3 separate regions of the Homo sapiens genome follow, and all the other regions are linked to region 2. Evidence: promoter capture Hi-C in human tissues and cell types (Jung and others, 2019). All regions are on one chromosome and are shown on one strand. The core of a region is centred on a gene start or on the middle of the fragment in contact, and the rest is flanking DNA. Distances in the headings are between cores, read along the strand shown.

Region 1 (4,694 bases), core at 966-3,465, 530 kb after region 2:
AATTCTAGAAAATCAAAGCAAAGAGAAAAAAGCTGAACTTCTTTTTTTGTTTTTCCGAGACCCGTCACCCAGGCTGGAGTGCAGAGTGGTGCAATCTTGGCTCACTGCAACCTCCACTTCCCAAGTTTATGCGATTCTCCTGCCTCAGCCTCCCGACTAGCTGGGACTACAGGCGTGCACCACCACACCGGGCTAATTTTTGTATTTTTAGTAGACACGGGGTTCCACCATGTTGGACAGGCTGGTCTCAAACTCCTGAACTCAGGTGATCTGCCCTCCTCGGCCTCCCAAAGTGCTGGGATTACACCGTACTTGGCCAAAACCTGAACCTCTATTAACCTGTGGGGTGGCATTTGTTCTAAGTGGGTAAGAAAGGCCATCTAGAATAAAGGAGAAAGAAGAGATCTGGAGTCAACTTCAAATTATAGCTTTGCTATTTAGAAGCTATTTGGACATATTACCTGACCTTTCTGCCTATCAGCATAATACAGGCAGTGAAATGACTGTTGGGAGAGCTTCACAAAGCAATGTACGAACAGCACTACTGCCAGCACATGGCCTCACAGAAAAGCTGAGCATTGTTTATACATCTTGCTTGTGGTACCCACCACATTCCACCTTTAAAGACAGGTGACTGAACGTGTACGTATCTAGTCCCACTTCTAGACTGTAAACTCCTCGGCAGCAGAGCTTTACAGGCATTATAGCATAGTGGTCAACAGCATAGATATAAGAATTCAACCCCAGCTCCAAGTCTTGTTATCTTGGGCGAGGTACTGAACTAAATGTGTCTTCATCAGTAAAATGGAAATAACATCACATATTAACACGTATTCCACGGGACTGTTGAAGATCACTCAAGAAAACACAGCTGAGGCTATGAGTACTTTCCTAGCCCACCGTAAGTGCCTGATAAATGGTAGTGATTATCTTTTCATGTCTTGTGTCCCTTATACCTGCTAACGCAATCTAGCTAATACCTACAGCTTTGAAGGTTTATGAAGCTGAGACACTGCCCCACCCACAGAAATCCAGAAATATCAGTATCAAGATGCCAAGGAGAAGGGTCCCCTACCTCTGGAAAATCTCTTGCAGCGTATCCCGGGTGAAGGCATTGCTGTCCTGGAAGACGTTATTGAGGGCGTGGAGGGCACAAAGCTCCCTGCGCTGTTTCTCATGGTAGATTTGTGGGGGTGCTGCCTGGGGCAGCTCCAATGATTCAGATTTGGCCTTGTCTCCTTTCCATGGCACACAACTCATGTTTTTTGTTTTAGGTTCCAGAGATGGCTATAAACACCCCACTCTTCCCTCTAGAGGAAGAATGTAAGCTTCTCAGTCTTTTCCGGATTCCTGAGGTCCACCTTATTCTCTGGTGTCCATGATTTATGCTTTGTCACTGGGAGAAAAGATTGGAATCAAAAGGAAAAAAATAAAACCCACCTCTTCTCTCTTCTCAATAGAAAAATAACTTTTGGATTACTTTTATTTTGCTACCACTGTCAAAGTGCAGAATTTAAAAAAACACATAAAATGTAAGACCTTGTTTCCGTTTCCCCACCCTTCCCTCCCACCCCCCTCCAAAATCCCCACGATTTTCTTGCTGTTTCCCTCTGCAAATGCCAGGCCTCAAAGCAGGAGGACCGAACACAATCGGTCACATCGCTCCTTTTCTTCCATTTCTTTTGAACCACGACGCCAATGACTCGGGAGACAAGGCCTGGGTGACGGATAAATTTAGCGCACGAGTCGAGTAGCTAGCGCGGGCCGGCAGGCGTGGGACCGCGAGCCGCGCGGGGGCCTCGGGGGCAGCCCTCCATCCCCTCGGGTACGGTGGGGCCCGCAGGGCGCGGCTCCCTCGGAAGGCGCGGATTCTAGCCCTCTGGCCGCGGCCCTGCGGAGGAGGAGACAACTCCGGTCAGCGGCGAGCGGGCGCGGGAAGTGAGCGGCGGGGCCGGCCCCTGCCCGAGGGAAGGTTCCGCGCGGCGAAGGGCTGGCCCGCGAGGGGTGGGGCCGGACAGTCAGCCTCGCGCTCCCGGGCCCGCGCCCACCCGGCTCGCAGCCCCTACACAAACCTCCCCGCCCGTCACGTGAGCGCAGGCCCAGACGCCCTCCCGCCGCGCCCCCGGCCGCAGACCCCAGGGCCGCCGGGACTGCTCGCCGCTGGCGGTCCCCTCACCGCAGCCGGCCGCCACCTGGAGTGCGCGCCGCCAACTGGGCCGTGCGGGCGGGCGCGCGCACCTGAGCCCGACGTCAGCGGCCCCCGCCCGGCGCGTGCTCCGGAAACGCCCTCCCGCGCCGTCCTCACTCCTCCCAGCCGTGGCGTCACGCCTGACGTAAGTCTGACGTCATCGGCACCGGCCTGGGAGCCGCAGACGCCGGGCGTGTAGGGGCGCAGTTCAACGGTTGGGGTGTTGCAAAGGCCGTGGGTGTGGGGCTGCGGGCTGCGCACCTCGGCGGCGGCCGGCAGGGTTGGGGTCCAGCCGCTCCGCTCGGCGCGGCCCCTGGCGGGGCGGCCTGAGGGAGTCCTACCTGGACGCCAGCCTGCCCTTCTCCCGGGCGTGGGCGTTGTTTCGGGGCGGCAGCCAGGCCAGCGGCTGCAGTCCGCGGCTTTCAGCACCCCTCCCTTCTCTGTGCCGGGCTTTTCGGCCGAACGTTCTCGCTCCTTCTGCGTTGACTGTTTTATGTGTGGTTAACGCGCGGCTCACCAGGGGGGATTTTGAAGCACCTGATTCGGTCGGGCGCAAATTGCCTTGGTTAGTGGGCCCGACCGTGCCGCACTGTCCAGGGAGCGTCAAGGGTAGGTGTCTCGCTGGGAGTCACATTTCAAGTGGAAAGGAGAATCCTGTTGCAGTTCCTTGGTGTCGCATTTCGGTTCACTACACACAAGCCACTGCCTTCTTGCCTGGGGGCTCCCCGCTCTTCTCACGGTGGCTTTCCTCTCTGCAGAGACCTCTGCGCGAGGTATACCTAAGCGCATTGTGTGCGTCTTCGGGAAAAGGCGAAAACTACTCGCAGTCCCACGTGGATTTCATTTTTTCCCCTTTACCTACTCTTAGGGTGCGTGGTAGGCATCATTATCCACCTTAGCTGCCCTTCTTTTGGGTTTTCTGTAAAACTGGAAAAACGAGAAGAAACTGTTGCACTTCAAATTTAGTTGTTTTGTTTTGTTTTTTGGAGACGGAGTTTCGCTCTTGTTGCCCAGACTGGAGTGCAATGGCATGATCTCCGCTCACCGCAACGTCCGCCTCCCGGGTTCAAGCAATTCTCCTGCCTCAGCCTCCCGAGTAGCTGGGATTGCAGGCATGCGCCACCACGCCCGGCTAATTTTGTGTGTTTAGTAGAGGGGTTTCTTCATGTTGGTCAGGCTGGTCTCGAACTCCCGACCTCAGGTGATCCACCCGCCTTGGCCTCCCAAGGTGTTGGGATTACAGAAGTGAGCCACCGTGCCCGGCCTTTTTTTTTTTTTTTTTTTTTAAGATGGAGTTTAACTTTTGTCGCCCAGGCTGAATTGCAACGGGGCGATCTCGGCTTACTGCAACCTTCACCTCCTGGACTCAAGCGATTCTCATGTCTCAGCCTCCCGCGTAGCTGGGATTACAGGCTCCTGCCACTACGCACGGCTAATTTTTGTATTTTTAGTAGAGACGGGGTTTCACCATGTTGGCCAGGCTGGTCTCGAACTCCTGAGATCCACCCGCCTCGGCCTCCCAAAGTGCTGGGATTACAAGCGTGAGCCACCGCGCCCGGCCTGAAGTTTTATTATTTTTGAGACAGGGTCTTGCTCTCTTTCCCAGGCTGGAGTGCAGTGGCGCGTTCACGGCTAACCCACAGCCTCTGGGCTCAAGCGATCTTCCTGCCTCAGCCTCCTGAGTAGCTGGGACTACAGGCATGCATCACCACACCTGGCTAATTTTTATTTTTATTTTTGTAGAGGTGGGGTTTCATCACGTTGCCCAAACTGGTCTCGAACTCTTTCCTGGGCTCAGGTGATCTGCCCATCTTGGCCTCCCAAAGTGTTAGGATTACAGGTGTAAGCCACTGCACCTGGCAAACGTGACTATTTTAACACCATTACCCTCAACGTTATGATTTAACACGCTGGAGTGCCTGCCTCAGGGTGAGGAGCCCTCTGGCTCTGTCCAGCCAACTTTTGAATTAAATTTTTGTGGCCGGGCGTGGTGGCTCACGCCTGTAATCCCAGCACTTTCGGAGGCCGAGGCGGGCGGATCATGAGGTCAGGAGATTGAGACCATCCTGGCTAATACGGTGAAACCCCATCTCTACTAAAAAATACAAAAAAAAAAAAAAAAAAAAAAATAGCCAGGCGTGGTCGCGGTCGCCTGTAGTCCCAGCTACTCGGGAGGCTGAGGCAGGAGAATGGCGTGAACCTGGGAGGCGGAGCTTGCAGTGAGCCGAGATCGTGCTACTGCACTCCAGCCTGGGCAACAGAGACTCCATCTCAAAAAAAAAAAAAAAAAAAAAAAGTAATTTGTAAGCTACCCACGGCTATGGTTATATTTACATATGAATAGTTTGAGGGATTGCTCTGCAGCAAGCAGTGTTCTAAGTGCTTTACATATATTAGTTCATTTACAGCTGATTTTATCCTATTAGATACTTTATTTCTTTAAAGGAGAAAACAAGCTCTAAGAAGTTAACTTGCTTAAAAGGTCACATACATATGATATGTGAAC
Region 2 (4,150 bases), core at 1,219-3,718:
GGCGCATGCCTGTAATCCCAGCTACTTGGGAGGCTGAGGCAGAAGAATCGCTTGAACCTGGGAGGCGGAGGTTGCGGTGAGCTGAGATGGCGCCATTGCACTCCAGCCTGGGCAACAAGAGCGAAACTCCGTCTCAAAAAAAAAAAAAAAAAGATCATAACAACTGAAGAAAAGTTCGCAGTGTCCCATTACAAGGCTCAGTGCCATCTCTCAATGATGTCTATCTGGAATGTTCTTCCTCTCCTTTTCTGTCTGAGAAAGCCCTGATCCTTCTTCAAATCCAAGCTTGGTTCTCGTGGTTCTCAGCCTCCTCCTTAAAAATGTTTTTGTTGTTGTTGTTTTGAAACAGGGTCTGGCTCTGTTGCCCAGGCTGGAGTACAGTGGCTCAATCATGGCTCACTGCAGCCTCTACCTCCTTCCACCTCAGCCTCCTGAGTAGCTAGGACTACAGGTGTGTATCACCAGGCCTAGGTAATTTCTTCCAAACAATTTTTATAGAGGCCAGGCATGGTGGCTCATGCCCGTAATCCCAGCACTCTGGGAGGCTGAGGAGGGCAGATCACTTGAGGTCAGGAATTTGAGACCAGCCTGACCAACATGGTGAAACTCCGTCTCTACTAAAAATATAAAAAAATTAGCTGGGCATGGTGGTGGGCACCTATAATCCCAGCTACTTGGGAGACTGAGGCAGGAGAATCACTTGAGCCCGGGAGGTGGAGGTTGCAGTGAGCCAAGATAGCACCACCGCACTCCAGCCTAGGTGACAGAGTGAAGACTCCGTCTCAGAAAAAAAAAAAAAAAAATTATAAAGACAGGGTCTTACCACGTTGCTCAGGCTGGTCTCGAACGCCCGGGTTCAAGCGATCTGCCTGCCTCAGCCTCTCAAAGTGCTGGGATTACAGGTGTGAGTCACCGTGTCTGGCCTAAAATGTTCTTGATACACCATCACCAGATGCCAGGTTCTCTCTCCTTGCTCTGGGCTCTCCCTCACTTTAAACACATCTGTACTATCACAGCCCAGCATGTTACAACTGCCCCTCCTGCCAGACGGTAAGCTTCGTCATCCTCCTACCAAACACTCCTGTGCATCTTGCTGGCACCATCCTGAAAGCTTTACGTACATTAATCATTCTGTCTGACAACCACTCTATGAACTGGTTACTATTATTATCCTCATTTTACATATGAGAACACCAAAGAACAGAGGGGTAAAGTCACGGGCCCAGGGTCACCCAGCTAGTGGGTGGAGCAGTGAAAGCTGGCACCCAGATGGGCTGGCCCAGAGTCTGAGTTTCTCAAAGGCAGCTGCTCGTCTTTTCATCTCCGTCCACAAGCTTGGCTCACAGAAAGTTTGTCAAAACAAAAATTTAACTGAGTAAATATTATGCATAGAAAAAACAAAGCCTGATAGAAAACAAACCAAGATAGACTGACAGAAAACATGCCATTGAGTAGATGAGGGTGCTGGGTTTATGGGCTTTTGTTTTTTCCTTTTCCCTATTTTCCAGATGCTATGTAAAGCGATTATAGTTTTCAAAGGAAGTAGCAGTATAGGCTGAGCCTCTGGGGGCTGCAGCCGGGAAGATGGGGACCTGTGGGACTCAGGCCTGGCCTGGAAGAGCGCAGAGAGGCTACCCCGAGGACGGGCCCACAGGGACGCGGAGGGGTGCGCCCAGGAAGGGCAGAGAGTCAAGAGCATCCAGCACCCATGAGCCTCAGATTGAGGGAGAAAGTCACCAGGGGTGCAGTGAAATCAAAGAAAGATTCCACACACCCCTTCGTCAATGGCCCAGCCTGTGTACCCCCCACCAGAGCCTGGGGCTAGGGGATGCCCCCCACACACCCACGACAGCATGGCCACAGAAACGACAGGCTTGGCTGGCATCCAGCCTTCAGGGTAGGCAGGAGGACGAGATGACGCAATGGAGGGAAGGTGTCTGGGACACAGGCCGACTGTGGGCACACAAACAGTGGCCATTGTTATCACTAGGTGGAAGAAAGGAAATGACAGCCACGGGGCCACATCCTGGAACACTCACGGCATTGCCAACCAGGAAGGCGGGCCAGCAGGGAGAAAGTGCTCACACGTGCTTCCTTCTGTCCCTGCCACCTTGGACCCTGGAGCCTAGGCTCTTCCCAGCACAGCTGCAAGAGGGGGATGGTGGATGAGGGCCCCCCGCATCATGCCTCACTTCATCTCTCCCCCTGGCTTCTCACAGCGTCCTACCCTTGACCTTCCCGTGGGGTAGACAATCACTTTTCCCCACTGATGACCGGCCCCTCCTCCTCCTTACCTGGGCTTCTCCCTGCACCCCCAGGATGCCCAGGTCACCTGACACAGACCGCACCTCGGCTGTGTCAAGCAGCTCTCTCAAACACCACAAGCAGAAAGACAAAGACCCAAGACCTTTGGTGGTGGGGGTTGACAGTGACAATTCTGCCTGTCCAAGCCAGGCAATTTCCAGGTACCAATTTTGGTGCCCCTGCTGAGGGAAGCCAGATATTTCTGGCCGTTTTCCTTATCTCTGCTCACCCATCCTCTGTCAAAACCAAGCTTGCCTGCTGGGTTCATTGAGGGAAGACTGACAGAGAGTGTGCTGGTGTGAGGGTCCCCTGGAGGAGCTGAAGGACGGGAGGAACAAGTATTATTATCCCATCTTCCCATCTCAGAGATCAAGAAACTGAGGCCCAGAGAGGCCCTGAATTGTACATGTTCAAAGGGCAAATTAAGGCCGGGCACAGTGGCTCGTGCCTGTAATTCCAGCATTTTGGGAGGCTGAGGCAGACGGATTGCTTGAGCCCAGGAATTTGAGACCAGCCTGGGGAACATGGCAAAACCCTGTCTCTACAAAATATAAAATAAAATTAGCTGGGCATGGTGGTGTGCGCCTGTGGTCCCAGCTACTCGGGAGGCTAAGGCAAGAGGATTGCTTGATCCTCTTGAGGTCGAGACTGCAGTGAGCCAAGATTGCACTACTGCACTCCAGCCTGGGAGACAGAGCAAGACCCTGCCTCAAAAACAAAACAAAACAAAGGGCAAATTAAAGTTGATGTCCACCAAAAAACAAAAACAAACGGGCTGGGCGCAGTGGCTCACGCCTGTAATCCCAGCACTTTGGGAGGTTAAGGCGGGCGGATCACGAAATCAGGAGATTGAGACCATCCTGGCTAACATGGTGAAACCCCGTCTCTACTAAAAATACAAAAAAAATTAGCTGGGCGTGGTGGCGGGTGCCTGTAGTCCCAGCTATTCGGGAGGCTGAGGCAGGAGAATGGCGTGAACCCGGGAGGCGGAGCTTGCAGTGAGCCGAGATCATGTCACTGCACTCCAGCCTGGGCGAGAGCGAGACTCTGTCTCAAAAAAAAAGAAAGAAAGAAAAACAAACGAAGAAACAAAAAACCTCGAGTGGGAACAGAGGGAGATTGGAGCCAATGGTAGCATCTCTGATGAGTTCCCTGGAAGTGACTACCTGGGTTCATAAAACAGTCAACAGAGAGACCCAAGACCAGTCCCTGTCTCGCCAAGTGCACGGTCCCCTGAGGGAAGGACCCCTAAAGGGGATGACTTTTTAGCTGAACTTTCCAGGAAGAACAGGAGTTTGCCAGCGGGGGAAATGGCGAGAGGCCTTCACAGCAGATGAAGCAGATCAGAACACGGAGGAAGGCAGAGATCAGGGGCTTGCTCAGCCCACCCATGAACGGTGAGCATTTTCACTGGGACTGGACGGCTCGAGAGGGGAAGGTGCTGAGAGGAGGGGCCGTGGTTAGTGCTGTGATCAACGTGAACACAGGTCACCTGGAGCCACTTGTCCAGGGCTGCTATGTCAGTCACGCCCCTCGCCATGCCCAGGGAAGCTCCTCTCATGACGAGGAGCCAAGCCCCGGAAGAAGTGCAGTAGAGGACAAGGGACCAAGAGGGTGGCTCAGAGCGGGTGGTGAGGGAGAACTCAGTCCCAAAAATCTGGTTCCTCCTCAGCTACGAATTCCCTGAAGGACCCTGGGCAGGTCTCAGGCACGGGAGGAGCGGTCCCTGCCCTCTGATTGCTGCTACCTGCCGCAGCTGCCAGGCCCAGGCAGTCCCCTCTCCTCCCCTTTGGAAGGTCTGTGTGAAAACTGCTTTTCTGTAGTGAAAGGGGCCTGCACTTGCGTC
Region 3 (4,354 bases), core at 1,415-3,914, 610 kb before region 2:
AAAGTAGGGAGCTTTACGCAAATCACTTCACTTATCTGCAAAAGGGACACCATGGCAGGACTTTCCCTATGGGGCTCTCACAAGAATTAAATGTCATAATGCATGTTAATGAGCTACAGGACCTGGTATGCATCAGGTGCTCAATAAGTGCTGGTTACTACTGATGCTATTAATAGTAATAACCACAGTAGCACTAGTTCTTTGTTTCCATCACTGTCCTTCCAGTCCATTCTTCACTCACAGTCAGATTTCTATTTTGTTTTTTGTTTTTTTGAGATGGGGTCTCGCTCTGTCGCCCAGGCTGGAGTGCAGTAGCACGATCTCAGCTCACTGTAACCTCCGTCTCCCAGATTCAAGCAATTCTCCTGCCTCTGCCTCCTGAATAGCTGGGATTACAGGCGCCCACCACTATGCCCGGCTAATTTTTGGTATTTTTAGTAGAGACAGGATTTCACCATGTTGGCCAAGCTGGTCACGAACTCCTGACCTCAAGTGATCTGCTCGCCTCGGCCTCCCAAAGTGCTGGGATTACAAGTGTGAGCCACCGCGCCCGGCACTTTTTTATTTTTATTTTTTAAGATGGAGTCTCGCTCTGTTGACCAGGCTGGAGTGCCGTGGTGCGATCTCAGCTCACTGCAACCTCCGCTTCCCAGGTTCAAGCAATTCTCCCTGCCTCAGCCTCCCGAGTAGCTGGGATTACAGGCACCCGCCACCACGCCTGGCTAATTTTTGTATTTTTAGTTGAGACGGAGTTTTACCATATTGGTCAGGCTGGTCTCAAACTCCCAGCCTCAAGTAATCTGCCCACCTCAGCCTCCCAAAGTGCTGGGATTACAGGCGTGAGCAACCACGCCGGGCAACAGTCAGTCTTCTAAATGTACACCTGCCAGTGCTGCCTGCTGGCTCACTGTCCTGATGCTGTTCCAGTTCTCCATGGGACAAAATACTCCTGGGCCGGCCCCCAGGGAAAGAGTTCCTACTGCTGTGCCACTTGAGCAAATGCTAGAATGCTTTGTGCCTCTGTTTCCTCATTTGTCCAGCTGCAGAAATAGCTCCTTCCCTTGGTGGCCAGCATGGGGATTCAGGGAGCCAGTGGAAGAGGCCTAGCCCCTGGGTGAACAGTAAAGACCTTGTCTCCTCCACCTGCGGGTAAATACAGCTCCTCATCCCCGGCCACAACAGCGCTCAGCCAGTCTCCTTCAGCCGGGTTTGCCTCCGCTGCAGGGTCCTCCACTCCCAGCCTTTGCTGTGCTGTCCCTTGCCAGCTGTGCACTGTGCATTTCCACTGCCCTTCCCTCTGCCTACACGTCCTTTAAGACTTAACTCACAACCATGCAGTGGCTCACACCCATAATCCTAGCACTTGAGGAGGCCAAGGCAGGCGGATCACCTGAGGTAAGGAGTTCAAGACCAGCCTGGCCAACATGGTGAAGCCCCCTCTCTACTAAAAAATACAAAAATTAGCCGGGCGTGGGTGGGTGCCTGTAATCCCAGCTAGTCCGGAGGCTTAGGAGGGAGAATCGCTTGAACCCGGGAGGTGGAAGCTGCAGTGAGCTGAGATCATGCCATGGCACTCCAGCCTGAGCAACAGAGAGAGACTCCGTCTCAAAAAAAAAAAAAAAAAAAAAAAAAAAAAAAAAAAAAAAAAAAAGAGAGAGAGAGAGACTTAACTCAGGTATCATCTCCTCTAGGAAGATTTCCTGAGCCCCCAGGCCCTGCAGGAAGTATTAGGGACCTCTCTGTGCCCTGACAGCCCGAGGACTCTATAGTCAGATGGGAGTAGTCAAAGGAGGGCACAACAACGGGAGGCAGGGGCCAGAGATCTATCTCCCCTCCTTGAGGATGGCACAGGGTCCCGGGTATGGCTGATTCCCTGCCCTCCATGGAGGTGGGCGGGGTGGGGGGAGGGTCTGTAAAGTCTCTGAGATGCGACTTCATTTACCTGCCGAGCAAGCCTCCTAGGTGCTCTTGGAGCAGGAAACACTTCACACAACATCTGATGCTGCTATTATCTATCCCACTTTCAGATCAGGAAACTGAGGCAGAGAAAGGTAAGTAGTGACTGAGGCAGGACAGGAGCCCAGGCTGTCCGGCTCCAGGGTCCCGGTCTTGACGGCCACTCTACCCCACTCTACCAGTCGCCCCAGTATGGCTGTCTTCCTCCTGGGCACCGCGGGGCCTGTACCGGATGGAAGGGAATGAGAATGGGGAGCAAAGGAGTGGGCATGTCATGCCTGTAAACATCAAGGTTTAAAGGCCCAGGCATTCAAGGCCTCAGATCGAGCTTCCCGGTTCCCCGAACTCCCGCAGGGCGCGGCTGGAGGGCCCAGGAGGGAGGAGAGTTCATCAGGCCTGGACGCCCCAAGCAAGGCCACGAGGGGAACCGGTGGAAGAGGGGTTGGCGGCCGGGGACCGGAGTCGCCTCCCCGGGGCAGCCCGCACGTTCCCCGGCTGGCCTTGTCCGGGGTGGCGAGCAGAGGCCTGGCCTGGCCCCCCAGCCGCGTCCCTGCCAGCTCTCGGCGGCCGCGAGGACGGTGCCGGGGAGGGGGCCGGGGAGGGGGCCGGGCCCCGCCCGCGGGCGGGAGGAGACGGGCGGGAGGCGGGAGCGCCCACACCCCGCCCCCGCCCCCGGATCCAGCCCGCGGAGCCCGCGGCCAGGGCGGCGCAGACCGGCCCAGCGACTCTCCCGGGCTGCCAGCCGGGACGCGCGGCCGCCGCCGCTGCAGACGACGAGTCCGCCCTCGTCCCGCGCCCCCGGGGCTCGCGGAGCCAGGTAACAGCCCGGGCGCGCGGGTCCTCGGGGCGGAGGCCGTGGAGGCCGGCGGGTCCCGGCGCCCGCGGGGACTCTGCACCCTACTAGGCTCCCGGGGCCGGAACGGGGACGGGACCCGCCCGGGAGAGGCGCCCCCGGGTGCCCACAGGAAGGCCGGGCGCGGCCGCGGAGCCGCGCGAGGAAACTCCGAGCTTTCGGGCTTCGTGTCCCGTTCCAGGCTGGTGGAGGGGGCAGAGGATCGGACACGGCTGAGCGGCCAAAATGCGCGAGGAGGGGGCGAGCCGAGGGGCAGAGCGGGGGCTGTCTCCGCGCCTTCCTGCGCGGGGGAAGGAAGGGCCGGGGCGGGCAGCGGGCGACGCGGCGGAATGTCTCCCCTCCGCCGAGGCCCACGCGGAGAGCGGGAAGTGGGGGGTGGGGGGCCCGGGGAGATGGACAGGCACCCTGCCCCCCTCCCCGACCGCCGCATTCCAGGCTGGAGCCGCGGATGAGGTCATCCCGTCCGGTTCCCCTCCGGCCAAGACAGCCGGTCGTCCCCTTCCCCCGCGGAGCGACCCTCCGCGTCCTGAGCCCCGTCCCCCCAGGGAATGTTGGATGGCCGAAGTCTTTCCCGGACTTCCAATCCCGGCCGCCCTCCAGATTGTTCTGCCTTTGCCCCAGCAGTGCCAGACCCGCAACATTCGAAGCCCTTTTCCTAGACCGGGAAACTGAGGCTTAGAGAGTAGGGGGGACTGGCCGGGAGGCCGCAGCGGCACTAAACGTGGCGCGGGGACCCGAGACGCGGCCCGCAGCCGCTCCGTCTCGCTCGGTCCCGGGCTGGTTCGGCTCTAACTCGGGGCGGTGGGCACGAAGCGCGTCTCCTTTCCACTTTCCCCGTCGCTCCCTAATGGCCCACGGTGCCCCCCTTGGAATACGGAGGACCGGGTCCCCTAGCGCGACTGCGAACAACTAGCTACCCCGTTCTGGCCTCAGTTTCCCCGTCTCTCCACCTTGAAGCGTCTGGACTTTGAGGAGCAGGAGAAGTCAGCCGACCGGTTTAACCCCTTATTCCAGGGACCAGAGCAGGTTTGGGGGAGCTGCCGTAACCATGACAGGGACCCGCTGTCCAGCGGTGGGGGGGGGCGTCACCCAGCTGGATGCCCGCAGGAAGTGGGCTGTGTGCACCCGAGCAGTGGCCTCCAGGATGAGACGTGGGCCCCTGGCCAGCACTGCGGCCTGCGGGTGACCCCCAGGTGAATGCCAGGGTGCAGCCGCCCCCGCTCTCCTTCAGACCCGCCCTTGGCCTCCCCGCGACCACATGTGCCTCCACAGCGACCCCTGTTGGCCCGATCCCGGCTCCAAAACTTGTTCTTGCGTCATTCCCACCATTGAGTGAGCTCAGGCCATGTGCCCAGGCCCTGACTATCCTCTATAGGGTAAATATAAGGACTCCAAGGACACTGAGGCTGTGTGGTGACCTCCTTGCCCAGGTCACAGGCAGTGAATCTGCAGAGCTGGGTCTCCTGTCTTCCCAGGCCTGCACCTGCACCCCACACCGGGCTCAGCACTGGGCATCCAAGCCCTCCAAATCGTCTTCCCCATTCC

The links. Contacts are between HindIII fragments. The study calls those that stand out against the background at their distance.
Region 1: the fragment with the promoter of JOSD1 here is called in contact with a fragment that was not itself captured in region 2 in 1 of the 25 tissues and cell types used here (dorsolateral prefrontal cortex).
Region 3: a contact is called between the fragment with the promoter of CDC42EP1 here and a fragment that was not itself captured in region 2, in 1 of the 25 tissues and cell types used here (bladder).

The regions. Positions count from the first base shown.
Region 1 is chr22:38,698,728-38,703,421 of GRCh38, forward strand. JOSD1 (Josephin domain containing 1) reads right to left here and starts at 2,216. Exons shown (of 5, transcript NM_001360236.2): 1 at 2,073-2,216; 2 at 1,076-1,891. The coding sequence starts at 1,260. RefSeq lists a silencer at 1,723-2,682. The HindIII fragment of the contact is 3,457 bases long and covers 14-3,470 here.
Region 2 is chr22:38,171,038-38,175,187 of GRCh38, forward strand. All of the region lies in intron 1 of PLA2G6 (phospholipase A2 group VI), which reads right to left. Among named protein-coding and RNA genes, the nearest start is that of PLA2G6, 8.7 kb to the right of the region's middle. RefSeq lists an enhancer at 3,073-3,217 and a cis regulatory region at 3,145. The HindIII fragment of the contact is 3,596 bases long and covers 671-4,150 here.
Region 3 is chr22:37,557,816-37,562,169 of GRCh38, forward strand. CDC42EP1 (CDC42 effector protein 1) reads left to right here and starts at 2,665. Exons shown (of 3, transcript NM_152243.3): 1 at 2,665-2,773. RefSeq lists enhancers at 3,301-3,907, 3,908-4,354, 3,984-4,213. The HindIII fragment of the contact is 19,033 bases long and covers 1-4,354 here.